Regions from separate parts of the Homo sapiens genome. Here all the other regions are linked to region 1. Evidence: promoter capture Hi-C in 16 types of primary human blood cells and fetal thymus (Javierre and others, 2016). All regions are on one chromosome and are shown on one strand. The core of a region is centred on a gene start or on the middle of the fragment in contact, and the rest is flanking DNA. Distances in the headings are between cores, read along the strand shown.

Evidence for each region. The method cuts DNA at HindIII sites, captures the fragments that hold promoters and counts their contacts. A CHiCAGO score of 5 or more calls a contact.
Region 2: a fragment that was not itself captured here is called in contact with the fragment with the promoter of STAP1 in region 1 in 2 of 17 cell types (fetal thymus and naive CD8 T cells); the score reaches 6.8 in fetal thymus.
Region 3: a contact is called between a fragment that was not itself captured here and the fragment with the promoter of STAP1 in region 1, in 5 of 17 cell types (total B cells, naive CD8 T cells, total CD8 T cells and 2 more). The highest score is 9.2, in total B cells.
Region 4: a contact is called between a fragment that was not itself captured here and the fragment with the promoter of STAP1 in region 1, in 3 of 17 cell types (total B cells, fetal thymus and naive B cells). The highest score is 10.7, in total B cells.
Region 5: a contact is called between a fragment that was not itself captured here and the fragment with the promoter of STAP1 in region 1, in 1 of 17 cell types (neutrophils). The highest score is 5.1, in neutrophils.
Region 6: a contact is called between a fragment that was not itself captured here and the fragment with the promoter of STAP1 in region 1, in 1 of 17 cell types (naive B cells). The highest score is 6.1, in naive B cells.

The regions. Positions count from the first base shown.
Region 1 is chr4:67,555,807-67,560,669 of GRCh38, reverse strand. It overlaps STAP1 (signal transducing adaptor family member 1), which reads right to left and starts at 1,943. Exons shown (of 9, transcript NM_012108.4): 1 at 1,741-1,943. The coding sequence starts at 1,860. The HindIII fragment of the contact is 12,125 bases long and covers 1-4,863 here.
Region 2 is chr4:68,376,731-68,381,593 of GRCh38, reverse strand. No RefSeq gene overlaps it. Among named protein-coding and RNA genes, the nearest start is that of YTHDC1, 29 kb to the right of the region's middle. The HindIII fragment of the contact is 2,143 bases long and covers 1,040-3,182 here.
Region 3 is chr4:68,337,242-68,342,104 of GRCh38, reverse strand. It overlaps YTHDC1 (YTH N6-methyladenosine RNA binding protein C1), which reads left to right. Exons shown (of 17, transcript NM_001031732.4): 2 at 3,721-3,822; 3 at 4,205-4,533; 4 at 4,655-4,863. Among named protein-coding and RNA genes, the nearest start is that of YTHDC1, 10 kb to the left of the region's middle. The HindIII fragment of the contact is 1,967 bases long and covers 1,639-3,605 here.
Region 4 is chr4:68,318,280-68,323,142 of GRCh38, reverse strand. YTHDC1 (YTH N6-methyladenosine RNA binding protein C1) reads left to right here. Exons shown (of 17, transcript NM_001031732.4): 11 at 228-394; 12 at 2,938-3,020; 13 at 4,281-4,317; 14 at 4,414-4,453; 15 at 4,562-4,624. Among named protein-coding and RNA genes, the nearest start is that of YTHDC1, 29 kb to the left of the region's middle. The HindIII fragment of the contact is 3,740 bases long and covers 135-3,874 here.
Region 5 is chr4:68,297,887-68,302,749 of GRCh38, reverse strand. It overlaps the pseudogene LOC100422188. Among named protein-coding and RNA genes, the nearest start is that of YTHDC1, 50 kb to the left of the region's middle. The HindIII fragment of the contact is 6,217 bases long and covers 1-4,863 here.
Region 6 is chr4:68,156,913-68,161,775 of GRCh38, reverse strand. No RefSeq gene overlaps it. Among named protein-coding and RNA genes, the nearest start is that of TMPRSS11F, 29 kb to the right of the region's middle. The HindIII fragment of the contact is 2,848 bases long and covers 1,493-4,340 here.

The sequences.
Region 1 (4,863 bases), core at 694-3,193:
ACACACACACACACACAGACACACACCCACACACACAAAGATACTTTACTATAAATTCAAATAGAAACACAAGTTAATTTCATTGGAAATATTTATGCCTATAGGTATTCATTCTGCTTCAAAGAATGCTTTCTAAGAGAAGGTAAAGAGTAGAAATTTGGTAAGGAAGACATCATTCCTACTATATTAAGCCTCTTGAAAATAAAATCTTTGTGTTTTTTTCCATATTCTCCAGAAATGAGTGATGCTTGGTGCATAGGAGGCACACAATAAATGTTGAGTGAATAAATTGATTGAACACCTACTGAATCCTAGAATGTACCTTAGGAGGCAAGTAGCAAGTAGTATACTCTCTATCTTATAGTTGAAACAGTCTCAAGGAGATTGAGTAACTTGCACAAGATCACAAGCTATAAGTGGCAAAACCATCAGATAAAGGACACTCTAAAATTCTTATTCTTTCTGCTAACCATACCAATGACATGTCTTCTTTAAGCATTTAAAAAAAACTGCTATCATAAACAGTTATTATAAATACCTTGGAAAACATTCAATGAACAACCTGATTTAAATTACTAATTAGAATTTTTTTTTCTCAACTTCCCTTTCCTGGCAAAGTGTGACTATGTGGCTTACCTGTGGTGACAAGATTGAATTTACATTAAAAGCATATAGGATCAATCTAAAAAATTCTAATATAACTGAAAGGTAATTATTTATGCATGTTTAACATCCATAACAGAATACAAATTACCATGTCTTTACTCTCAAATAGTAAATGATCTGATTATATATGTAAGAAATGTGAATATGCTATTATAGATTTTTCATATATATAATTTTTCCACAAGTATTCATAAATCCTCAGAAAATATATTTTAGCATCATTAAACATTTCTGATGGAATTTCTGAAAACCTTAAAATTTTTCTAGTTTTAGTCAGTATACAATTTCATAAAATTTGACCTAACTTAATGATTTTTTTATTTAATAACAGGCAATTTTGGGCTTATTTCTCTAATTAATTTCAAGTCATCCATAATTACTGTTTTAAAAGTAATGATTTTAACTAACTATAAGTTTTAATTATTACATTTAAAAATACAGAATGCTTCATGGATTTTCTTAGAGCAAAGGTATTTATGTAGCTTAGTGTACTTAATACCCACAGTAGTACCCCAAAAATTAAAAGTCACTATCTTGAATAGTATTTTAGAACACATAACTATATATAATGTTAAACAGTATGAACTTTGTCATTTTAACAATTTTTACAAAAGCCATTTTTAATAATTTGATCATTATAAACTTCAAATGACTCAGAACAGGAGCAGGTTTAATTTTAATCATGATATCATTTTATCTTAATGGTACATGTCATCATTGAAGCATAGCAATAAATTGTGGAGAAAATACAAGAAACATTTTATCTCCCAAGCCAAAATCTTTTGTGATATTTAAATAAATTCTTTGGAAATTTAGCTTATTGACTTTTTTATATTAGTGCCTTAATATTACAACCTCTGTTATTATACATATTATATATGTGTATACATACAGGTTTAAGCCAGACATTGTATTTAAATTATGAAAAATTGGAATCATTTTTCTGAGCTCAAAGAAGAGAAGATGATTTAATTTCAACAGAAACAAGGAGGTCTTAACACATCACATCACCATGAAATAAATATTAAATTAAAACAGAAGTCTTAGGTTTAACATTATCATCTATAGACTCACCCGGTATCCTGACCGCTTGATTAATAAAAAACCTTCAAAGTACAAAGGTAGAGCAGTAATCTTTAACCTTTCCTGGAAGATCCTGCGAGGGGCTGGTTTTGGGGGCTTCTTAGCCATCATACCCCTCTCTTTGGTGTGTGGTTTGGTTTCTCGTCTCAAACAAAATGAAATCTTCCTTCTGTGAGAGGAAAAGGCAACTGTTCAAAGAGGAAGTCCCAAATTGCTTTTTAACCACCAACACTACCACCAACAGGACACACACACACACAGACGCACACACACACACACACACTTTTTTTTCCATTACTTTTTGTGAGGTAAGAAAGAACAGGTGTAGACTGACTTTCAGAGGGCAATCTCTGGGTAATCCACATGTGCTTAGATTTAAAGCGCAAAATAAACAGAAGATTAACATCACCAGAAGATGAAAGAAACAGGTGTAGAGATTGTGAACTTTAGGGGAGATATCAAGAACACAGTTATTCTTTCTATCTTTGTTTTTGTTTATTGGTGTCCATTTTTATTTGCAGAAGACATGACTTGAATAAACTCAGCTTCATTAAAAATTACTTCATAGAATAATTTTATTAGTACTACTTCTGTTGGTTAAATATTTTAGGGTCAAGTTTTGTGTAAATAAAAAAAATAGTTGTATCTCATGCTCATTTGATGCTTCACTAAATATAAACCACAATTATGGGAACACGGAATATGGAATTTTTTTCTTTTTTCTTTCTTTCTTTTTTTTTTTTTTTTGCCAGTAGATATTCCAAGTACATGAGTTCCCAATGAATATTTAGTGCTATGTTTTGAATGTGTCCTCCAAAACTTATGTGTTAGAAACTTAATCCCCAATGCAACAGTGTTTAGAAATGGGACTTTTAGAAGGTGATTAAGTCATGAGGCCTCTGCCCTCATGAATGAATGAATTAATTAATGCTGTGGGAGTGGGTTTCTTTCTCTTTTTTCAGAGGCAGGGTCTTGCTCTGTTGCCCAGGCTGGAATACACTGGTGCAATCACAGCTCACTGCAGCCTTGACCTCTCAGGCTCAAACAATCCTCACACATCAGCCTCCTAAGTAGCTGGGACTACAAGGCACGCGCCACCACTCCTAGCTAACTTTTTCATTTTTTGTATAGACAGTATCTCCCTATGTTGCCCAGGTTGGTCTCAAACTCTTGGGCTCAAGCGATTCTCCTGCTGTGGCCTCCCAAAGTGCTGGGATTACATGTGTGAGCCATTGCACCTGGCCTGGAAGTGGGTTTTTTATAAAATCAAGTTTGGCACTTTCTCACATGCTATCATCCTCTCTTGCTCTTCTATCTTCTGCCATGGAATGATGCTGCATGAAGGTCCTCATCAGATGCTGGCCATGTTCTTTGACTTCCAGACTCCAGAACCATGAGCGAAATACATTTCTGTTCATTATAAATTACCAGTCTGTGGCATTCTGTTACAGCAACACAAAGGAGTCTAAGATATTTGGCAAAAAAATATCTGGCAGAGAAAGCTGTAAGTTTTCAAACTTTTATTTTGTTCTTTTGTGCTTTCTGAGCTGCAGACCATTGATACTATGATTCATGGATGGACTTCCCACAGTTATCTAGTGAGATTTATAAAGCTATACTGGGGCCAAAGTGCACTCAATGGTTGCATGTAGGAAATGGTCCTTAAGAGATTGGATTTGGCGTAGCACAGTGCAGGAAATGATGGGAGAAAAGAATACTAGAAGGAATTTTGATTTGTCTTACAGGGGTCCTAAGAATTTCTACCATTGCCTATTTCACACTCAGTATTTCAGAACTACTCTAGATTTAGAACAGCCTGGGCCCAGTGAGACCAGCCTATTATTAGAAATCAAAGCAAGTCAGGAGTCTTCAGTCTGATTCTCCTTTCCTAATGGAGAGACTGCATGGTTTTCTCCACCAGTATGGGTCCCACTGATCCTGCAGCTGTAGATATGGGATGACAAATTGTCTACAAAGTGAGGTAGAACAATACGGACTGATTATCAGTAAGTTAGAGAAGAGTGTTCAGATGTATTATCAAAATGAAAACAGCTCAAGACAGAAATAGGGAGTTGAAGATCCAAAATGACTGCTTTGCTTTTGTAAGTTTAGACCTGCTTCTTGCTACCCAACCTTCAAATAATAAAATATAAGTCCAACTGAATTTTTTGAGGCAAAAACCATAACTATTTTTTAGTTTCGGTATACTAAGAAAGTGACTTGAATAACAGGAAAACCTCCTGATTGAATATATGACCTAATCCACTTTCTTGGCAGCTGTTAGTTGTTGTAATACAGGGGGGAAGTGAAAGGAGGGATTAAGAATTGAAAAATGAAAAGAAGCAAGGATAAAGAAAGAATGCTGGGAATCATCAGTGATTACGCACTGACTTTATGGTCAGAAAGTTTCATAGGTGAGAGAAAATAATACCTCTAAAAAAATGTAAAGGGGATTTTTTGTTGTTGTTAAATAAGCACTTAGTTTTTTTTTTGCCTTTAAAATATAAGCAACAATTTAAAAACAGCTAATCAGACACAGTAAGTTACTTTGGTCTGCTGATTTGTTCGTCAAATTCATTCTTAATATACCAAGAATCAAATTATATCTCCCTGAAAAAGACTACAAAATGCAAAAATCTTGCTTAAACAATATTAACAAGTTAGTCCTGTCTGCAATGACTAGTGTCATTGCACCACTGCACCATTACAATGGAAATCCTCTTACAGATACCTCAAGTCTTAGGCAGTGAAGAATAAATTTGTAGGTAAGGAAATATAGTAGAAAATATGTTTGGACATAGGGCATAAACTAATTTTGCTACTAACCAGCTCTTGAGACCTTGAACAAACCACTTGACTTCTCTGGTATCATAGCTTCCTCACCTATACAAGGAGGCGATGGACTACATGACTTATTGTTTGAAGAGCTGCAAAAGGCTTTTAAGTAGTCTCCTAGTTTCCACTCTTTTTCTTCTTTGATTCATTTAATATTCAACCTAATCAAGATATTCCCCTACTGAAAAGACTTTAAAGGATTCTCATTGCTTTTGAGATTCCTTTTTAAATATTTTTTATTGAACACTAAATACTTATTGAATACCAACAATGGGCTCA
Region 2 (4,863 bases), core at 862-3,361, 820 kb before region 1:
TGGAAAAAAGAAATATTATGATTAAAATGAAGAGAAAAGCAGCAGGAGCATTCATTTACAGAGTGAATACAAACCATTTTGCTCTAATAACCAGTTTCCTTAGATAATCTTTCTGAATTTATTCCTTTTCAATTTACTTAGTCAAAGAAATAAGTAACCTAACTTTTTTCACTGGTTAGAAGGTGAAAGAAACAGACGACAGCTGAATTACAGTCATCACTGCGTGATTTCATAAGCTGTTACTTTCCCAAGTGGTAAAATCTATTCTTCCTTACCATAAAAAAAAATACACATTTCTCCCTTTGAACTTTTTGAAGCACTTTATTCAGCAGCAAAAGACATTCTTTAGATCCCCTGAGATACAAAGGTGGTATTTTCTCCAAGATGAACATTCACTATGCCATCAATTAATCAGTGATGTTAAAACACACTGAATACAATTAACTGTTTTACATGCCAGCATAATACCCTCTTAATAGTCACATTAAACATTAAGAGAATACTATTTCAGCCATTTCCTCTAATAGGTTGTGCTATATAGTCCTTTGCCTTCTTTTTCTTTTGTGATTATTCAAAGGAGGCAAGACAATAAGAGTATGAAGCACAGGGTAAGTACAAGAAAATTTTGCGAGGCACTGAACTCCTATAATAATCTTCATTCAAGATCATTAATATAGTAGTTTGAAAAAGATAAAATGAAAGCTTCAATCTAAATAAGTTCTAAAGATAACACATCAAGATCCATAGATGCAATTTAATCCTCACATTATACATTATACTGATTAACAAGGTAATTGCAAAATAAATTCCATGGTGGAAAAATATCAAAATATCAACAATATGTATCATGTGGAAAGGTGAGGTTTTTGATGATCATAGTACGTTCTTTTTTCTTTTGAAATATATTTTCTACATTTATGTATACTAATACTAATAGATATGTCAATTCGAACTTTGTGGCTTATCTCATTATTATCATTTACCTAAATAAAACTAGAATTAAAATATAACTACTGTGGTATTTATCTTCCTCTAAGCTTAGAAAAGATATAATAGCAGGACATCATCGAAAGTGTGAGAATTCAGTGTGCACATGCTTAGACGGCGTTGACTTCCATATACTCCCTTAAAGTTCCCTATTCCTCATATTTCAGATTCTACTACATATAGTTATTTTTAGACTATCAAGTCACAAAATTGAATTAATCACACCCTTCATTTCATTGCACATTTTCAGCGTCTGTGCAATACCCCTTTTTAAATTTTACCTTTCTACTTTTTACTACCTTTTTCCCATGCATCCACCATTCTCACCTCACCCCACCCTTACATATTTAATTTATACCCTACCAGTATATCATTGCTATATTCATTTAGATATATGTGTATCTTTAAAGATGAATTTGGTGTTTCTGGGCATATGCATGTAATATCCTTGAAAGTTATTCTTTTATAAATCTCATATTGTTTATTCCCCAATTTGTCATGATATTTTAAGAGCCATCCAGATAAATATTAATCTAGAACATTATTTCTGAGTGCTGAATATAACTTTATTATGTGTCTATCCCTTATTTTATTTCCCATTCCTCTGTCAATGGACATCTAGACTTTCTCCATTCTTACTACCACAAACATTGCTGTGAAAAATATTCCTAGGGACATGTGCAAGAGACCTAGAAGTGTAATTGCTACATCATTGAGAAAGTATAAAGATAGTTAATTTACCAAGTACTTTCAGGTTGCTCCCTGGAATGGTTGCAACAGCTTACTTTCCCTTAAGTTGAATGGGAGGTCTCTTATTTCCCAACATCCTCATCACTGCATGATATTGTCAGACTTTCCAATTGTTTTAATTTGCAGTTCTCTGATTACAGAGTAAGGGTAAGTCACTCTTCGTTTGCTTATGAACCATTTGGGATTCCCAGTTTATTTGTGTATTTTCTGTTTCAATAGTAGAATGCAAACTTCATAGGTGCTGTTGTTTATTTGCATCTCCATTCCTTTCCTGATTAGTTTTAACATAAATTTGTCTAGTCAATCTTTTAAAAGAAAAGCCAGTTTTGAGTTTTTATAGTTCATAGTTATATGTTTAGAATACGTTGAATGAATGATGAATAAGTAAAAAAGGAATGTCATTTGCTGTGTAACAAACAACTGCACAACTCAATGACTTATAACAACAAACTTTTTATCCTCACTCACCAAGTGCCCACCTACCTGTGGGTAGTTGTGGCTCTGAAGAGGCATATTGGGCATGGCTCCAGCCTGCAATTTGAATGAGGTCTGCAATGAGAGGAAACTGTTGTTTAGATTTTTTAAAACTTAGATTTATAGTTTACATGTTCCAAATTCCTTTTCTTTAAAATATAGGAAAAAAAATGATACCGAATATTTATGACCCAGTAAGCCTAGGAAAACATCTTGCAAGCTGAGTTGTCATGAAAATATCTTGAGTAAGATTATATTTGATTATTCTCTCTGCTTTAGTACAACTTAATATGTTTTACTTATATTTTCTGACTTTCATTGTAAAGATGATAAGCCTCTCCAATATGGCAAATTATTTTACTACAGAGACTGTCTTAACATAACATCTGCCCAAGGTTTATTTTAAAAAAAAAAAGAGCATGTTTCAGAAAATTGCATGAAGTCATCAAACATGTCTTATGTCTCATAGCAGAGTTGCTATTCAGTCAGTATACATGACCATACAAGTTGTTAAAATATTGAAACAATCCTATATACATGGTAAATAGAAGCCACTTTGAGACCCTGCCCCATGCCTCTGCCCCAGCCCACCAGAGGTGTACTCATAATCCGGACATGAAGGGCACAGCATCCAGGAAGCTGCTCTAGCAGTTTGGCTGGTGTCTGTTCTGATTGGTCAGTGCCCTATGTTGTACTAATTGTTATATATTTTAAATATCACGTCTGAAGATAGGAAATAGCGCAAATTCTCATGTACAATGTGTAAATAAACTCATGGGATTTTGTCGGGGGTGGGGGTTGGGCTTTGTTCCTCCAACAAATACGCACATATACATACGACATGCATGACACCTATGTATACGCTCCAAAATCTCTGGGATAAAGAAAGCAATACAGTGTGTCTCTCTTCCTGAAGCTGTTTATATTAAAGATGCCTCTGGCAGTTTTTCATCTAAACACGTTACAAAGCTTCACTTGTTCCACACTTTTCACATCTCTTGGTTAACTTCTGGATTGATTCCTTGTCTTACTTGAGCACATCCTCCCAAAGTGTTTTCAAACAGAATTTTTGTCAGCCTTCTGAGGCCTTGTGTACCTTACAATAACTTATTTCAGCCTTACATTGAATTAATTGGATATAGCATCCTAGCTTCAAATTTCTCTTATTTCAACAATTTCTCTGTCCTCTTTCTATCAAATACACTCAGCCCTATGTATCTTCAGGTTCTGCATTTACAGATTCAAACAACCTGGGACCGAAAATATTCAAGAAAAAACCAAATTAACAATTAAAAAAATACAAATAAAAACCAAAGCAGCATAACAACTATTTACATAGCATTCCTATTGTATTAGGTATCATATGTAATATAGAGATAATTGAATGTATACAGGAGGATGTATGTAGATTATGAGCAAACAGGCCATTTTATATAAGGGAATTGAGCATTCCTGGATTTTACTATGAAGGCAGTGGGTCCTTGAACCAATCCTTGAAGATACTGAAGAAAGACTGTACTAATATCACTCTTTCGTCCTGCAAAATTCTGTCACTGTATCTTACCTTTTCTCTCAGTTTTTTAGCACTGCTTTGTCCTTCCTGAGTCCTTCTAGAAGAGTTGATTGACCTGATCTTTCAGCTCACTAATTTGTATTTCAAGTGTGTTCACTCTGAAAAGCAGTATCTAAAAAACATCTATAAGGTTTATCTAATACCATACTTACTGAGTTATTTCAGTTATTAGGTTTTTCATACTGAATATCTCCAGTTGGTCCTTCATAACTGATTTTTCTGATTCATGTTTCTAATTTCCTCCTTTGGGTCTCTAAAAATATTTTTAGTCCTTTTAAAACAATTATTACACTTTTGAACATTTTTTTCTATCTGATCCATTCATTTGGCTTCCTCTTTTATTTTTATTTTTTTAGCTTCCTCTTTTAAAGATATCTGTTTGCCTACCTTCTTTTCATAATACATACATTCTTCACATTTTGTGATTTTGTTATTTTTTTCCTGTGAACATACAGTCCCTTATGGTCTTGGATGATATTCAGATGATTTAATAACAAGGACAGCATGGACACCAACTAATCCTAACAGAATGCTGAACATATTAGAACAGATAGATGCTCACTGTTAACTACCTGATATGGGCTCAATGACTGTCGTCCTAACTTGAGACTATCAGCTAATCATACTAATTAAGTGTACTATTATACCCTGATTAGTATCCTCAGATTACAAAGTTATTGTACCAAAAATCTCCTCCTAAAGACCCAATTCTGATGTCAATTTGATCTAAACTGGTTGACAACATAATTTCTAAATCTTTTCCCTGCAATGATTAAAGTATAATCCAACAGCTTCTTAAGATTTAAAGATAAGATTTTCAAGATCATAAAAGGTTTAACATAAGAAAGACTGTACTAATATCACTCTTTTGTCCTGCAAAATTCTGTCACTATGTCTTAACTTTTCTCTCAGGTTTTTAGCACTGTTTGTCACTTCCTAAGTCCTTCTAGGTAAGGACTAAGATAAAATAATTCCAAGAAAAGACCTCATGCTAGGAATAGTCTGTTTACCATCCAGCAAGAGTATTCTTTTTATTTCCAAATTAGATAACCTGCTACAATCATGAATTATTTTACATA
Region 3 (4,863 bases), core at 1,373-3,872, 780 kb before region 1:
GATAATCAGAACATGTATGCATATACCATACCTGTTTTGTTGAAGAAGGAATTTTGTTTTGTGTTCTGGACCAGATTTTATATATATCACATAGCCCAGTCATTAGCAAGAGGGTTGGGGCAGGCAGGTTTTATTAAAGTCCAATAGTTATAAGGAAGGAGAGTCTTCTTACAGGTTGAAAAACTCATAGAAGATTCAAATGTCCTGCTTTTCCTTTCCCCAAAACTGACCTTTTTTAAGTGCCTCTTATCAGAGGTGAAGAATCTTGAACTCAGAAAGACTGGGAATTTCCTGATACCTAAATGCAAGCTATAACCTGCATTTCCTTAACCTCCAAGACTTTTCCCCTTGTATATTATATTCCAGTGTATATATAAGGAGTTTCAGTGATGGAGAAAAGTACTTAAAATTTGGTCATTTGTATTATATCAGGGGTTGGCAAAACTCTTTGTAAAGGGCCAAATAGACTTTGTGGGCTGTAAGTGTTCTCTGACATATTCTTTGCTTTTTTTTTTTTCTTGTTAATAAGCGCCTTAAAAACGTAAAAACCATTCTTGCAGGCCATTCTAAATAGGCAATGGGCCATGTTTATCCTGTAGGTTTTAGTTTGCCAGTTTGTGGTAAAACCACACAGTTTATTGATGTTATGGACTATAATACGGATAAAAGTGTGTACATCATTTAAGTGAGGGTGTTATAGTTGATTTTGAATATTTCAGTAGATTTTAAATGTTGTAATGTTAAAGATATAGAGCTTTCTGGTGCACTAATTTGAAATTTATGTTCTAGTATATATGCCCTTTTAATATTTTGCATTTGTGTTCTTTATACTTTGGTTAAAGTTGCTTTTATTGTTCCCCATCTGATTTAACTGTCAATTTCTAAAGCCGGAACTTCATACTAATATCCATTTGTTACTAGACAAGTGTATTTGGTCAACTGGAACATTTGAGCTTCTCTTTCTTTATCTGCAAAGTAATGAATGATTAAACATGCTCTATTTTATATGATTTGTATATATGATATATTTTAAAAGTGATAAAATTTTAAAAGTGACAAAGTATTTTTAAAAAGTAGTAAGCATTGGTTAATATTTGTTGTCTTGAAAAAGGTTGTAGGTGCTTTCTAAAACTACAACCAGTATCTGAATTTGAATTCGTTAAAACTTTAAAACAGTAATACCCCTTTTTATAGGAAAACCAGGCTTTAAGTGTGTTTGAAACTTAAATTTATTTAAATTAACATTCTGCAAAATTATTTCATTCTGTATTAAATTTAGCATGTCTAAAGTATATAATATAAATGTTCAGGGTTCGGGGATGATATTTCTGAATAAGATCTAGTGATTTTATGAAAAGATTTGTATAGCATTATTTGCCTGTTTCATTGTGATAGTCTTGAAATTTTTTCTTTTTGTCTTCTACAAATGTATTTGATTCTGTGAAGACCTGTTGGATCTACTTTTTTACTGATTAGTGAGCTTTGACCCAGTACTTATTAAACATCTGTAAAACATTGATTTACTTCTATCAGACTATTTTTTTTATAATTTAGAGTCCGAAAATGGTGTTTGCCACCATTCAGATCTTGAAGAAATTTTTCTTAGCAAAAACATGAATCTAGATGATGAGAGAAGCTTTTTTGTTTGACATATCTTGATTTTAAATAAGATTTTTTAAAAGTAAACAAAAATAAAAACCCATATAGCCTGTTTTCATTTTAGAAAAATGATAGAAAGTACATATCAGCATTGGTACCACCCAAAATGATCAATTTTGCTATTCCAGACATAGTAATTTTCAGATATCTTTAGATTGTGTCTGTTTCCAAATGTAAAGGAAAATGATATCTTTTCCATTTCCTATGTAACCTTATCGTTTGTATTAACTATTCTCTTCAGTCACAGATTTCTTTCCCACTTTGGGGAAAATTTGAATCCCATTTAACCTGTTTATAGCCCCCAGGTTAATTAATAGACCTTTCTGTAATTCATGTGGGCTTTGTTTTTTTCCTGAAGCCACAAATGTAATTGTTCTGTCTCATCAGTTTTCATGGCTTTATACTTCCTCTTTGGCACACCTTAAATTTGGAAAGATGTTTTTGATATTGGAATAGTTAATGTTTAAACATTTACTATTAGCATTAGTACATTTTAAAATTTAAAATGGTATTTGTGTGTATTTCTAAGGTTTATCTTGTTGGACAAGGTAGAAGTGGGGACAAAACTGAGTTTTATGCTTTCATGATCATTGAATAAAGTCATAGTTCCCTTCTCTGAACAAGTTTTGTGCTTTTACAGTCCACACCAGCAGGCTCTAAATGTTTTTTTTATTATATAGCACATTGATAATTTTTTCATTTAACTTGCAGTTTGACATAATTTCAGATAAGCATAATAGCTACAAGTGCAGTGTGAAGAATTTTCTTTTACTCTCCAAACACATTCTGCAGATGTTAGCATTTTGTCACATTTGTCTCATTCTGTGTGTCTGTGTGTGTACGTGCATGTGTGCACACTTTTTTCCTGAACCATTTGTAAGTTGTAGACATAATATATCTTTGTCCCTAAATACTTAAATATGTGTTATAAGGACTTTGACTTAACCATAGTACAGTCAAAATTAGAAAAATAACATTGCTACTTACTCTGATTTACAAACTTTATTCAGATTTCACCAGTTTTTCCAATTATGTCCAATATTGTGGGCTGTGTTCAGTTATCATGCCTCTCTAGGTCTGCTTTGATATGAAATAGTTCTTACTCTTTGTTTCATGACAGTGACATATTTGGATGCCCTTTAATTTGGGTTTGTCTGATTTTTTTCCTCATGTAGGTTCAGCTTTTCCATTTTGCATAGAACATTACAAAAGCATTGTTCTATTCTCAGAGCATTGTTACAGGAGGTCCATGATGTTGATTTGTCTCATTACTGGTGATGTTAACTTTGATTATCTGGTTAATTTGGCCTGTGAAACATTTCTCCACTGTAAAGTCGTTTTCCCTTTGTAATTGTGGAGAGTGCACATTTTTGGTAAATGTGTATTTATAAGTTGTACATACGTATTTGTATACTAATTTATTGTACACATTTTAAAGCCCTCAGAAATATTAGAAATTAAAGAATGAGGTAAAAATAGAGACATTCTTGCATTTTCTTTTTATGCCTCAGTATATCTTTTCATGCCTTCTGAGATGTATACTCCTGGCTTTGTAGACCAGATAGCCCAGACTTCTGTTTGTGTGTGTGTGTGTATTTTGAGAAACTCACTCTTATCGCCCAGGCTGGAATGCAGTGGCACAATCTTGGCTTACTGCAACCTCTGCTTCCCAGGTTCAAGTGATTCTTGTCCCTGAGCCTTCTGAGTAGCTGGGGTTAAAGGCATGTGCCACCATGCCCTGCTAATTTTTGTATTTTTAGCAGAGCAGGGTTTTGCCATGTTGGCCAGGCTGGTCTCAAACTCCTGGCGTCACGTGATTGGCCTGCCTCAGCCTCCCAAAGTGCTGGGATTGCAGGCATGAGCCACCACGACTGGCCAATTCTTTACCCTGTATTAGTTTTATAGAAATTAATCTTGTGTCTTGATTCTGAAATAAAAGTAAAGCTTTTTATATAAAAGTAAAAGCTCCTAGGCGCTTGTGGCCTCACACTTAGTAAGTACTCAAAAATACATGTTCAATGATAGTGATTTTTCCCTATTAATTTTTAATTTTATTTGCAGATGGAGAACTTAATGTTCTGGATGATATTTTAACTGAAGTACCAGAACAAGATGATGAACTGTATAATCCAGAGAGTGAACAAGATAAAAATGAGAAAAAGGGTATGTAAGAGTTCTATTATTTTTGTTGAAATAACAGTATAAATAGAGGAGATTCAATTTCTTAAAAAAAATGACTGTGCTTTTTTGTGCTTGTTCCTTGAGGCAGTTAACACTAAATGTACATAATAAACTGGTATCCATATGAATAGGGATAATCTGTTTTTTTCTAATATATGAAACTTCTCAAATATATGGTTTTATTCCCATAGTTGAAAGCTATGTTTTCTTTTAGATTAACTCTGGAGAAGAAATCTCTCAGAAGACTTTTAAAGAAATGAGGCCTATCCCCCCTTCCTGATGTATATATTATTGTCAGTCTTTGGTGAAATAAATGGAATACTACAAATACTTCTTTTTTTTTTTTTTACATTGTATTTTAAAGGATCAAAAAGAAAAAGTGATCGAATGGAATCTACTGATACCAAACGACAAAAGCCTTCTGTCCATTCTAGACAACTGGTTTCTAAGCCACTGAGCTCATCTGTTAGCAATAACAAAAGAATAGTTAGTACAAAAGGAAAGTCAGCCACAGAGTATAAAAATGAGGAATATCAAAGATCTGAAAGAAACAAGCGTCTAGATGCTGATCGGAAAATTCGTCTATCAAGTAGTGCCTCCAGAGAACCTTATAAGAATCAACCTGAAAAAACCTGTGTCCGGAAAAGGGATCCTGAAAGGAGGGCCAAATCTCCTACGCCAGATGGTTCTGAGGTAGTAAATATTATTGCAGATATAAAACAGAAAGCCATTCTTTTTGAGGCTTTAGAACTGTTTATTCACCCTGACCTTGTCTTTTATATGACTGCTGATTCCCTTTTTCTTTAAACATCAGAGAATTGGGCTTGAAGTGGATAGACGTGCAAGCAGATCCAGCCAGTCTTCTAAGGAAGAAGTGAACTCTGAAGAATATGGCTCTGACCATGAGACTGGCAGCAGTGGTTCTTCTGATGAGCAAGGGAACAACACTGAGAATGAGGAGGAAGGAGTGGAAGAAGATGTGGAGGAAGATGAAGAAGTAGAAGAAGATGCAGAAGAAGATGA
Region 4 (4,863 bases), core at 755-3,254, 760 kb before region 1:
TGTATTTAACTTCAGAGATTCTACACTTTTAGTTTTTACCCTTTATATAAATACACAAAACACTTTTTAAATGTTTTATAAATCTGGAAGTCTTATTGGAATCCCATATGATCATCAGCCTTGGGAAGAAAGCTTCCAAGTCAGTTTTTGTTCTGGTACATCAGGAAAATGCAAGTCTGTTGAAAGGGTCTGTTTTTGTTTTATAAATTGCTACTTTCCTATTCTAGGAAATTGAACTTGAATGTGGAACCCAGCTTTGTCTTCTGTTTCCCCCCGATGAAAGTATTGACTTGTATCAGGTCATTCATAAAATGCGTCACAAGAGAAGAATGCATTCTCAGCCCCGATCACGAGGACGTCCATCCCGTCGAGAACCAGTCCGGGATGTGGGAAGGTTAGAAACGTTCTTTGGACTGATAATAGGCACATGTATCAGAATAACATGATGGAGGAATATGATTCGTCAAAAGTTTGTCCTGCGGTAAAGAAGAAAGAGAAAATCCTCAAATCAAGCTGCATGGACTAGTTTGTGGCTTCATTGAGGATTTCACATGGTCACCTTGGTCTCAGTCATTTTTCAAGAGGAAAATGGGGATCTTTCCTTATGCAGAAAAAAGTATAACCAGTGATAACCAGTTTAGATTAGATAATACTCTGATAATACAATGTATACAATTGAAATGAGGTAGGCATTTGTTGCTAAGAACAGGCTAGAAAGGAGGAAGAGGAGGAAGTCTTTATTTGCAAAAATTGTTAATACTTTTTAAAAAGCCTTTTCTTTCAGGTATGTCTCTGGATAAGCCTTATCAGATATGGGACTTTTATAAAGGATCACTAATATTTTTTCAGAAGATGACGCCTCATTTAGAGGATAAAATATTTTAAGTTATTTTGATATTCAAGAGGAGCATTATTGGGACTGTTTCAGATTTTATCACCGTGATGTGTTAACCCTATTGCCAAATATTCTCTAACATGTACCCAGTGAATTCACACATCTTGCTGAGCTTCTGAAAACAATAGGTTCTTTCCAAAGGGGATCAAGTGGCCCTGGGAGACCCGGCAACAAACCAAAAAGAAGGGCTGTTGCTGTGTCTGTTTACAACTTTTCCAGATGCTGGCAGTACCTGTGGACTTAAAAGTGTTTTTTAGAGGATCGCCATGGTTATTGATCACTACTTTATGAACTAAACAGCATTTTCCAGAAAAAGGGGGTTTAACTTGTTACAGAATTGGAGAAGTCTTTGCAAAGGACTGATTTAAGCCCTTCTACCCAACACCTTCCCCTGTGTAGATTTGCATACAGCTAAATCTAAAATATTCTGCTAAAGACTATTGGATGTATGGTTGATGGGATGAAACCTTTGATTAAATTTCCTTTTGGTGGAGACATCCTGTGGTAGGTACAGATAATCCAACAAGAGTCCCCATTTCTTTGAGCTTAAAAAGGACACTGTCGAGTAGGTAGGAGGAAACCTGGCAGAGCCCCTTATTTTTGGCCTAAAAGGACTGAGCACCAAGATGTCTTTTGAAGTTTTAAGCTAAGAGGTTTCCAGTGCAATACAATATATACAAGTGAAGTTTTTACCTCAGTTTTGCAATGGACTGCAAACTATACTTATTACACCACTACACCTTCTCTCAAGCCTGCCAGGGCCTCCATTTATGTATGTGGCTTACAGCTTAAAGTCAGTAGTTGGACTACTATATGAACTGTTACTATCATGTTTTATACCGGTCGTAAATGCACTCCCCAAACTACAGGAAAGCGGTATGTTTATTTTTTAAACCAGCTTTTAATTTTCTTAGTATTATTTATTGTAGATGCAACTGTTTTTATTCTGTTGGGGGGCTTGGGATTATTGCACTTAACTTTGCAGTTTGAGTGAACTGTGTTGAAAAAGTTAATGAAAGCAGTTGGTACTCAGACAAATAGCTGAAAACTAGTGAATGCTAGGTTGTTATCAAGTTTTTATTTGACATTAAGGTTAAAAAGATATATTTATTTTCTAAATATTTTGGACTTTTTTTTTGTTTAACTCTTTATTAGCTGCTAAGTAAATTGAAGTGTATTTAATGATGTGTTAAGTTAACCCGATTTATGGAAGACAGTAAAGAACAGCCCTCTGTAGTCAGTAAAGTTTCACCTTCTAAAGAATATATTTTGAATTAGTTTTATGAACTCTGTTAAAATTCTGACCCATTACTTGCCAATTTATAAAAGCCTATTTTATTACAAGGCATTGTCTCTGGAAAAAAAAAATTCCCTTAATTCTTAAATGTCATTAGATGTAGAAAGAAAAACTAAATGTTACTAAGGATTATTAAGAAATAGTTTTTTAACTATTAAGATTTTAAAAACTTTCCTGTAAAGTTGCTTTTAATAAGTATCAAATTTTCTGTATGATCATGTAAAATTCATAATTTGTGCAAAGCAGAGGAAAAATAAATTCTTAATTTTGTTTAGACTTAACCTAAAATGACATTTATAAGTTTTAAATATGCAGATTTTAGAGTTACATATTGTACAATGATGATAGGTTTTTCTAGTTTTTATTTTTCATCTGAATGGAGACTTTATTTGGGAAAGTGTTTTAATTGTTAAAACTGATATTTAGTTTGAGAATGACTTTGTTTACTTTTGTTTAGACTACTAAAATGTGACTTACATGTTTTGATTGGACTAGTCTGCAATTTTCTCATCATAGCATGAGTTGGCAGAGAATATCTACTTCCAGCAGTACATTTAAAGTTTGGTTTATAGGAATTAATTTGAGAATCAAAATGTAGGAATTTTAAAATAATTTGCTCACTAAAAAAATTAAGATGTTAAATAATGGGTTATTCTTTGTACTTATCTCTGTCAGAAACTCTTGCTTTACTCTTTGTTCTCCCAGCAGTTTTTGGTTTAATTTCTAATGTGTCTAATTTGTGTAGGCGTCGACCAGAAGATTATGATATTCATAACAGCAGAAAGAAACCAAGGATTGACTATCCCCCTGAGTTTCACCAGAGACCAGGTTAATATTTTATAATCCTGCAGATATTTGATTTCAAATTATTGGAAAAAAATTAAAAAATTAAAAACAACCCTCACAATCCTGCAGTTTTAAAAGTGAAAAAAATTCAGGACCTGACTACTTAAATCTTGAGAAATTTTAGTAGTTCTCATTAGTGTAATTCTTCCCTTAACTTCGTTAAGGTTGTCTAGTCTATTCCAGTGTAACTCATCATACCCTATGAATTACCTGAAATTGCTAATTTTGCAAAAATGGAAACTTATCTGCACATGTGTTTAAGGTTAAAAGTAGTTATGAAAAGCAATAACCTTATATTCTATCAGGCTTTTTGTTCCCTATGGTAGTTAGTGTTTCATGTGATACATATACATACAATGCTACTTTTTTTAAATAAAAATCTTTATGTCTTTGGAGAGGAATGGGAAATACTCGGTATGTAATCTAAATGTAGCTTTTCAATTAATCTATCCCTTACTGAAATTTAAGAGAGCAAACTATATTCAAGAAGGGATATCATGTATTTGAAGAGAGTCAGTGATACACTTGTGAAACTTAGGCAGTTAGGAGATTGATGTTAGTGATCATTATAGCACTATTATGTAACAAGTGGCTTGATTAGCCTCATTCTTCCAAAATAGGTTGTCCTGTTGTAGAAAGTGAAAATAGTTTTTCCCCAGTAACATGACTACTCAAATGTTTTTACATTTTAATTTGTTGGGTTCTTATTAAAAGAAGCAGGGGAAAGAATATTTTTCTAACCACCATCGATTTTTCATTTTCAGTGTATACATCTTCATTTTTGCAACTTTTGCAATTTTTTCCCCCTCCCCCTTAAGTTTACATTTTAAAAAGCTTATCTGTGGTTTTCTTGGTAAGACCTACATATACCCAAGGTGGAAAGTAAACATTTGTTTTAAGGAAGTCCTGTCATAGTGTGCTCAAGATAGTTCCTCTGCCCTTACCTTCCCTGTGAAGCAGAAGGAAGAAATTTTCTGATTAGCAAGATTTGGAGTGTGAACATAGAAGATACCTATCTGAAAGCTTCTCTAGCAGTTTACAATTCTATGATATCATTAGTTATTTCCTAGATTATCATGTAATCTGAGAAGAAAATTTGAAAATGGGATAATACAGTAGTAGCATCACTTAAAGTACATATTTCATGGAAAGAATTGAAACGAGTGGTAAGGAAGGTTTAATTATAATGCCATAAAAGAAAAATATAAATTTGATTTACTAAAATGCTTGATGTTTGAACAGGGTATTTAAAGGATCCACGATACCAGGAAGTGGACAGGTAAGTCGGGTTCACTCTTGCCTAGTTTTGAATTACATTCTTGGAACTAGTTTATGAATTACCTGAATTTAGTTTCACAAATCTTATTCCCAACAGACGATTTTCAGGAGTTCGCCGAGATGTGTTTTTAAATGGGGTAAGCATTTCATTTTATCTATTTAATGTGGATAAAATCAGGCTCTGATTTATTTTGCAGTTCTGTGATAATTTTTAATTATATTGACATTATCATCTTTTATTTTAGTCCTACAATGATTATGTGAGGGAATTTCATAACATGGGACCACCACCACCTTGGCAAGGAATGGTTTGTATTATTCTATTTTTATAAGTTACATAACTTAATTTGCAGTTCTAGTATTTCAGGTGCTTACTCGGAATATGATTGTTACAGTTACTCATTAAAGAGACTTAAACTGGCCAGGCGCCGTGGCTCACACCTGCAGTCCCAGCACTTTGGGAGGCTGAGGCGGCTAGATCACCTGAGGTGAAGAGTTCGAGACCAGCCTGGCCAACACGGTGAAACTGAAACCTTGTCTCTACTAA
Region 5 (4,863 bases), core at 1,377-3,876, 740 kb before region 1:
CTATATTCTTTAAATGAATAATTGATTCTTATGTGTTGAATAATAACACCTTAAGTTAACTGACTATACTCTCAAAGTCTCCCAGGTATCTCAGGTTATTCTGTAATGGTAATGAAATTCACATACTTGTGATGGTACAGAAAAGAAATATATCAGTTTCTAATTGGCAGGTCACTTTCCTCACTTGTCATATCTGTCTTACCATGAGACAAACACTCTGAACGAAGAATACAGTCATTCCCCCTGAAAATGCAAAACAAAAAGAATAAAACAACTAGGAATAGGTTTACCTTAGGCAGGGGGTTGACAGGTTTGCAGTAGAGTCTTACAACAAATTCAAAATTAGGTAAGAGTGGGCGAGGAAATTCCAAATACCAGTAGTTTCGAATGAGCCACATTTCAGCTTTTCCCATTATCTCAGATAATTGTAGTGCATTTTCCTGAAGGGGGGGGAAAGGCAAAAGAAATAAAATTGTCATGTGAATATGCCAGGTAATTTTCTAAAATTATTTGAAATAATGTAGCCAAAATTTTTTATGACTTGCTAAAGCAAATATAAATGTGCATATTTATACATAATTTATATATTTTATAGATGTTGTTCATACATATGTAAGTAAAGTGGGTAGACTCTAATGTCACATTGGTATATACACAATCATGAATGATTATTAAAACGAGTCACTGTAGAATTAAACATAGATTTGTTTTCTCTCTAAAATACAAAAGTAACCATTATAAATTTAAAAACTCTTTGAAATCCACCATCACTTAATTCTACCATAGCCATAGCCATGTTTTTCAAGAGTATTCAGTCTAGTTTCTACAATTTAGGAAGCAATTTATTTCCTTAATCTTTGATTCTCCAAATGAATTGTAAGGTTTTGGGGTTTCTAGTAGCTACTACTGTATTTGATTCATAATAGGTGACTAATAATTTTAGTTTATTAATAATATTGATATTGAAAGTAACAGCTGGAAAATTTTTACAAATTATTAAAATAGTGATTTGTGCTCAGCCTTATTTAGATTCATATTTTCTTTAATGGAAAGATATAGTTTTAAAAATATAAACTAATAATTACATGTTCACTCTTCAACAAGATTTTAGGCCTTAAAATATATGACTTGTAAGCAGTTGTTGAAGGAATGTGGAAGTCTGAGAGACCTCAAATTATATAGCTTTTTGCATCTGGGACAGACACTATTCACTCAAATATGAAGAAATCCTCATAGTAATAGTAATATGGAAAAATGTTTTAATTTTTTAAATTAGGAAACTAAGCTACATAAGGGAAACAATGTCCTAATGCTACATAAATAGTTGTAGAAATGTATATGTAATCTACATGTCTGCTCTCATCAAGACATTTATTGAAATTTCTAATGACTATTTTAAGGACAAAATAAAAGCATTGTAAGATGGATATGTAATTGCTTAGAGAAATCCTCAGTGGTTCAATTTGCAGGATTATGACTTACTGGAGCATCCTGTACAATTGATGGTCCCAGAGTTCTAACTTACTAATGTCAGGCTTTCCATAGTATTTGTGAGATTGATTGATCATCTTATATTTTCACTTCATCATTTCATTTACAAAAAACACACTCCTCTGATTTTATACTCATGCAAACTCACCTCTAAAGGCACAGGGAAAGTTAGGACTTAATAACCACCAATTAAAAACATGACTTACCTAGAACTTCACTGTAAAACTGGTCTCACTTCTTCATATCAAATGTTTGGAACCAAAAGTCAAAATAAAACACATATATAATATTTCTTACTGTCTCCATGAATGTCATCGAACCACTTAATTCTGACAGAATAACAGCTCCATAGGAAGGTGGAAGTAGAAATCCTCCACTGTATTTCTCAAATGTGTAGCCAGGAGAGAAGTGGAGACTGTACACAAAGGATATTTTTAATAGCTCAGCCAGCAGCTCTCCAAAGGGACCAATGGCATTTGCATGAACGACATCAGACCTTGATTCTTGTAGGTTTGTCATAAGTTTCTTGTTCAAAACTACATCTTTAAAGAACTTCTCAGTATAACCAGAATATTCCCAAAGAATATTCTTGCATTAATGAAAAATATGTTCAAAATATATGTTTTGGAAGATCATGTATCCATTTAGTAATCTGTTGTGTGAAAAAAAACCCTGCAAAATCATCTTTAATTACAGATATAGAATAAACCTCAAATTTAGTAACAGATGTTATGTTGGGATCAACAAGAATGGAAGCTGACAATGTTAGAACAGTCACCTCATGACTTATCTGCATAAGTTTATCCAGGATTGTCTTTATATTCATCCAAGGACTATATTCCATGGGCCACAGCGGCACATTTCCACAACTCCCAGAGCTAGAGTAATAGCTCAGCTGTATCAACAGAAGGACTGAAGTCCATTTCATAGCCATCTTGATAAAATACAATGCTTCTTTTTAAATTGTTGTTCCCTCTGCCATTCTTACGTTTTGTTTTTATGCAATGATAAATCAATCCGGAAGTTAAAATATAACTCTTACACCTCGAAGTAAATACATTATATAAGTAGTCTGAACATGTCAATGGCAAATAGAAAAACAAAAGGTAGATGACCCTGTGTTTACACAAATGTATTTAATGTCTCTTTTATGTTTTTAAGTGCTTTCATCTAGCTAAGATCAATGATTTTGCATGAACAAGTCGTCGCATTTATGTGATGTATTTTAGTATACTGCCAAAAGTAGTGGCAATAGAGAGGCTCTTTTGTCTTCAGTCTCCTTGACACAGAACTAGAGATAAAATAATTATATGGATGAATCAGCATTTTTTAGAGTTATTTTTATAAAAACACTTTAGTCATGACTTTTTGACGTATAATTCACATGCTATGCAATTCACCAATCTAATGTGTATATATTAGTCTGTTCCCATGCTGCTAGTAAAGACATATCCAAGACTGGGTAGTTTACAAAGGAAAGAGGTTTAATTGACTCACAGTTCCACATGGCTGGGGAGGCCTCACAACCGTGGTGACAGGCAAGACAGAGAGCTTGTGCAGGGGAACTCCCATTTATAAAACCATCAGATCTCATGTTTCTTATTCACTACCACAAGAACAGTATGGAGGAAACTGGAGGAAACGACCCACATGATTCAATTATCTCCACCTGGCACCACCCTTGAAATGTGAGGATTATTACAACTCAAGGTGAGATTTGGGTGGGGACACAGTCAAACCATATCAGTGTACAATTGAATGTCTCATTGTATATTAACAGACTTGTAAAATCAGAAAATAATTTTAGAACAGGTTCATCTCCCAAAAAGAAGTACTTTACCATTAGCTGTCAACCTCCACCCTATGCAATTTCTGCATATCCAGAGTTCTAGGCAACCACACACTAATGTACTATCTCTCTATGGGTTTTCCTTTTCTCGATATTTCATACTAATGAAATCATACAATACGTGGTCTTTTGTGGTTGGCTTTCACTTTTCATAATATTTTAAAGACTCATTCATGTTAAAGTATCAAGATTTCATTCATGTTTATTTCCAAATAATGTTATATACTATGGATATACTACATTTTGTTTATTATTCATCAGTTAATGGACATTTGAGTTTTTTCCAGTTTTTGGCTATCATGAATAATGTTATTTATTAATGTTCATGTACAAGTTTTGTGTAGACATGTTTTCATTTCTCTTGGGTATATACCTAGAGATGGAATTGCTGGGTTACATATTAGCTTTATGTTTAACTTTCGAAGAATTACTAGACTGTTTTCCAAAGTGGCCATACCATTTTCCAGTCTCATTAGCAATGTATGAGGATTCCAATTCCTCCACATCCTTGACAACACGTGTTATTAATTGTCAACACAAACAACATTTGTTTACTAGGCTCTTTCCCTATTGAACTGCTTTGGCACTCTTGTCAAATATCAGTTGACCATTAACATATGGTATATTTCAGGATTCTAAAACCTATTCGATCAATCTATACATCTATCTGTATGCCTATGCCACATTTTCTTTATTACTGTAGATTTACAGTTGGCTTCAAAATCAGTAAGTACAAGTCCCCCAACTTTGTTCTTTTTAAGAGCGTTTTGCTATTTTTAGGTCCTTTAAATATCTAATATAAATTTTAGGATCATCTTGTCAATTTATGCTATGAAGTCAGCTGTGGTTTTTATAAGGATTGCATTGAATTTATATATCATTTGGGGCAGTATTGTCATTAATAAAATATTAAGTGTTTCAGTTCAGGAAACAAGATGTGTTTCCAATTAGATGTGTCACAAACAAATGGAAAAACATTCTATGCTCATGGATAGGAAAAAATAATATTGTTAAAATGGTCATATTACCCAAAGCAATTTACAGATTCAATGCTATTCCTATCAAAGCACCAATGACATTTTTTACAGAATTAGAAAAAAAATTCTAATGTTCCTTTGGAACCGAAAAAAGCCCAAATAGAAATAAAGCTGCACACCTAAAACTATCTAAGTTTTGGCAACACTGACAAAAACAGTGCTGGGATAACTGGCTAGTTATATGTAGAAGATTAAAACTGGACACCTACCTTTCACCATATACAAAAATTGACTCAAGATGGATTAAAGACTTAAGTGTAAAACCTAAAATTAAAACTCTTGAAGAAAACCTAGGAAATACCATTATGGATGTAGGCCCTGGGAAAGACTTCAAGACAAAGACTCCAAAAGCAATTGCAACAAAAACAAAAATTGACAATGGGACCAAATTAAACTAAAGAGCTTCTGCACAGCAAAAGAAACTATCAACAGAGTAAACAGACAACCAACAGAATGGAAGAAAATATTTGCAAACTAAGCATCTGA
Region 6 (4,863 bases), core at 1,667-4,166, 600 kb before region 1:
TATATAAAGTACCTGTACAAGAAAAAAATTAAATTTGAAATTATTTCTCCTTAATAATTGGTTCATCCAAAGCCTCATATGAAAATAGTGTTCTTTTCCATTAAATGTGATCATGGGGGAGGATGCTAAGATGGCTGACTAGAGATAGTTAGGAAGAACTTCTCTAACCCAGACAGACCAAAATATTGAGTAAACTGGAATACTCTGAAAAGACCATCTGAGAGAATACACTGAGAGATATTAGAGAGTTGACCAAGATGCCAGACTGAATGAGGAGGAAGCTGAGAACCCTTCATGGGGTTGTTGAGCACTAGGACTAGGACATGTTCTAGGCCCTGAACAGTTCCTAAGGAAGGGGTACCTTCTGCCTCTGGTGCTCCCCACCATCCCCTGTGGAGTGCTGTTCTCAGCTGTCTGACAGCACCTTAGCCCCTCCATCCAGCCAGGGCTTGACCTCAAGGGACCAGAGGACAAAGTCACAGATCCAGTCCCAGTCCCCCGGGATTAGAATACACAGTCCATGAGTGCAGAGCTCAGCCTTGCCCTTAAAAGCATCCAGAAATGGAGATACTCAACTATATCCAACTGGCACCACTGTTAAAACCTCAAAGGCAATAAAAATCATTAAAAATAAAAAGCCCTATCCAGAGGACAACAACTTCAAAGGAAAAAGGAACCTCAGCCTTCAACCATGAGAAAGAAACAGCACAAAAACTCTGGTACCTCTAAAATCCAGAAGGTCTTCTTATCTCCAAATGATCACAGTAGCTCCCTAGCAATGCATCCTAATCAGATTGAAATGGTTGAGATGTTAGACATAGAATTCAGAATCAGGATGGCAAGGAAGCTCATTGAGATACAAGAGAAGGTTGAAACACAATCCAAAGAAAACCATTAAAATGATCCAAGAGTTGAAAGACAGCGTAACAATTTTAAGAAAGAACCCAACTGAACTTCTGGAAGTGAAAAATTCACTACAGGAATTTCAGAATACAATTGGAATCATTAACAACAGAATAGACCAAGCTGAGATAAGATCTCAGAACTTAAAAATCACCACTTTAAAGCAACATGGGGAGACAAAAATAAAGAAAAAAGATTTTTTAGAACTGAACAAAACCTCTGAAAAAAAAAAGGGATTTTTGTAAAGAGACCAAACCCACGAATTGTTGACATGCCAGAAAGAGGAGAGAGAGAGCAAGCAACTTAGAAAACATATTTGAGCATATAGTCCACGAAAATTTTCCCAATCTCACTAGGGAGGTCAACATGCAAATTCAGGAAATTCAGAGAACTCCTGTGAGATACTAATGCAAGATGAACATCCCCATGACACACAGTCATTATATTCTTCAAGGTCAACATGAAAGAAAAAAATATTAAAGGCAGCTAGAGAGAAGGAGTAGGTCACTTGAAAAGGGAATGTTATTGGACTTAACAGTAGACCTTTCAGCAGAAACCATACAAGCCAGAAGAGATTGGGGGCCAAGCTTTATTATCCTTTAATAAAAGAAATTCCAACTAAGAATTTCATACCCTGCTGAACTAAACTTCAGAAGCGAAGGAGAAATGAAATCCTTTTCAGACAAAGGCTTAGTGAATTTCTTACCAGATACGTAAGGTCCGTCTTACAAAAGTGCCTATAGGGAGCACTAAACATGGAAATTCAAGAATGATACCTGCCACCACAAAAACACACTTAAGCACATACCCCATAGACATTATAAAGCAGCTATACAACCAAATCTACATAACAATCAGCTAATAGTACAATGAAATATTGACCCTGAATGTAAATAGGCTAAGTGCCCCACTTAAAAGGCATAGAGTGGGAAGTGAGATTAAGAATTAAGACCCAACTGACTTCAATAGAGCCATCTTAAGAGTAATGACATCCATAAGCTCAAAACAAAGAGCTGGAGAAAGATCTATTCAGGCAAATGGAAAACTAAAAACAGCAGAAGTAGTTATGCTTGTATCAGTTCAAAGAGACTTTAAACTAACAATGATCAAAACGGACAAAAAAGGGTGTTACATGATGATAATGGCTGAATATAGCAAGAAGACTTAACTATTTTAAATATGTATATACCCAACATTGGAGCATGTGGATTCATAAAGCAAGTTTTTAGATATCTATGAAGAGATTTAGACAACCACATAATAATACTGGGGGCCTTCAACTCTCCTCTGCTAGTGATTAGATTAATCACTGAGGCTGAGAACTAGCAGATATCATGGTCTTAAACTTGACACTTGACCGATTAGACCTCATAAATATCTAAGGAATACTCCACCCAGTGATAACAGAATATGCATTTTTCTCATCTGCACATGGCACATAGTCTAAGATCAACTACATGCTTGGCCATAAAGCTCATCTCAACAAATTAAACATAAATAGAAATCATACCTACCACACTCTCATTGTAGGGCAAAAAATTAGAAATTATGCCAAGAAGATCTATCAAAGCCATACAATGGAATGGAAGTTAAACAATGTGCTCTTAAATGACTTTAGAGTAAAGAATGAAATTTGGGCAGAAATAAAAAAAATTATTTGAACCTAATGAAAACAGAGACACAATATACCAAAATCACACAGATAAAGCAGTTTTAAGATGAAAGTTTATAGTGCTGAATGCCTACATCAACAAGTTAGTAAAATCTCAAATTAACATTCTAATGTCACACCTAGAGGAACTAGAAAAACAAGAGCAAACCAACCCCAAAGCAATCAGAAGAAAAGAAATAACTGAAATCAGAGCTGAATGGAATGAAACTGGGATGCAAAAATCCATACAAAAGACAAATGAAGCCAAAAGTTTGTTGTTCGAAAGATTAAACAAGATTGATATACTGCTAGCTATACTAGTAAAAAAAAAAAAAAAGAAGATCCAAATAAACACAATTAGAAATGACAAAGGTGATATGACAACCAACTCCGCAGAAATACAAAAAATCCTGAGAGACTATGGTGAACACCTCTGTGCACACAAACTAGAAAACCTAGAAGAAATGGATACATTCCTAGAAACACAAGCCTCTGAAGACTGAACCAGGAAGAAATTAAAATCTTGAGCACACCAGTAACAAATTCTGAAATGGACTTGGTAATAAAAAGCCTACCAACTAAAAAAAGTCCTGGACCAGATGGATTTATAGCCAAATTCTACCAGATGTATAAAGAACTGGTCTCATTCCTACTGAAATTATTTCAAAAATCTAGGAGGAGGGACTCCTCCCTAACTCATTCTACAAAGTCAGTATTATTCTGACACCAAAGCCTGGCAGAGATACAGTGAAAAATGATAACTTTAGACCAATATCTCTGAGAACATAGCAGCAAAAATCATCAACAAAATACCAGCAAACTGAATCCAGCAACACATAAAAAAGTTAATTCACTATATTGAGATGGGCTTTATTTCTGGGATGCAAGGTTGGTTAAACATAAGCAAATCAATAAATGTCATTCACTACATAAACAGAATTAACAATAAAATGACATGATCATCCAATAGACACAGAAAAAGTCTCTGACAAAATTCAATATCCCTTCCTGTTAAAAATCCTCAACAAATTAGGCATCAAAGGTACTTCAAAGTAAGAGCCATCTATGACAAACCAACAGCCAACATCATATTGAATGGGCAAGAACTGGAAGCATTTCTCTTGAGAATTTGAATAAGACAGGTAAATTCACTCTTGCCATTCCTATTCAACATAGTACTGAAAGTCCTATGCAGAGCAATTAGGGAAGAGAAGGAAATAAAAGGCATCCAAATAGGAAGTCAAACTATCTATTGTTTGCAGAAAGTATGATTCTGTACCTAGAAAATCCTATAGTCTCTGCCAGAAGGCTTCTAGAAGTGAAAAATGACTTCAGTAAAGTTTCAGGATACAAAATCAACATAGAAAAGTTGGCATTTCTATACACCAATAACATCCAAGCTCAGAGCCAAATCACAAATGTAATTTCATTTACAATGGCCACAAAAAGTGTAAAATACCAAAGAATACAGCTTATCAAGGAGGTAAAGGATCTCTGCAATGGGAATTACAAAACATGGCTGAAAAAAGTCAGAGACAACACAAACAATAAAAAACATTCCATGCTCATGGATAGGAGGAATCAATATTGTTAAAATGGCCATACTGCTCAAAGCAATTTACAGATTTAATGTTATTCCAGTTGTTATAGGAGTTATTAAGAAATTATTTTAGGAAGATAGGAAAAGGAGTCCTTGGGAAGTTTTTTTGTTTTGTTTTGTTTTTTTTAAAGCAGTTCCAGAAACTTTTCTTATATAGCAGAAAAGCCCTGGCTGGGCCAGCAAGCTTCCATATGCAAATGCCAGCTGTTAGAAACTGGGTCCACCCAAACATGGCGATTCCCACCAATTCTTCAGGTCCCCACATGTGCCTGGCAACATGGCCGCCCCCACATATGCCCACTTATGTAGAACATCATGGCACCTGCACTTGCATACTAAAAGGCCAGGGTAGGGGGCCAGTTTTTTTTGCGGGCTACTTGAATGACATACCTGGTCAAACCAATCCCCTGGGTCCTATGCAAATCAGACATTGCCTTCTCATATAACTGGCTGTTTTCAGCCAGACTTGGGGTTTCCTCTTTTGGGTTGGAGGCCCCCTCCCTCTGTCTCTGTACCTGGGAGCCTCTTCCTTCTTTCTTGCCTATTATATGCCCCTTAAAACCACTCCACGTGTGTCTGTATTGTTTTATTCAAACCAGCACGAGATAAAGGACCCTGGTGTTCCTCCAGTCATTGGGGCCATATCACAATCAACCAACCAATGACATTCCTCACACAATTAGAAAAAAATGATTCTAAAATTTATATG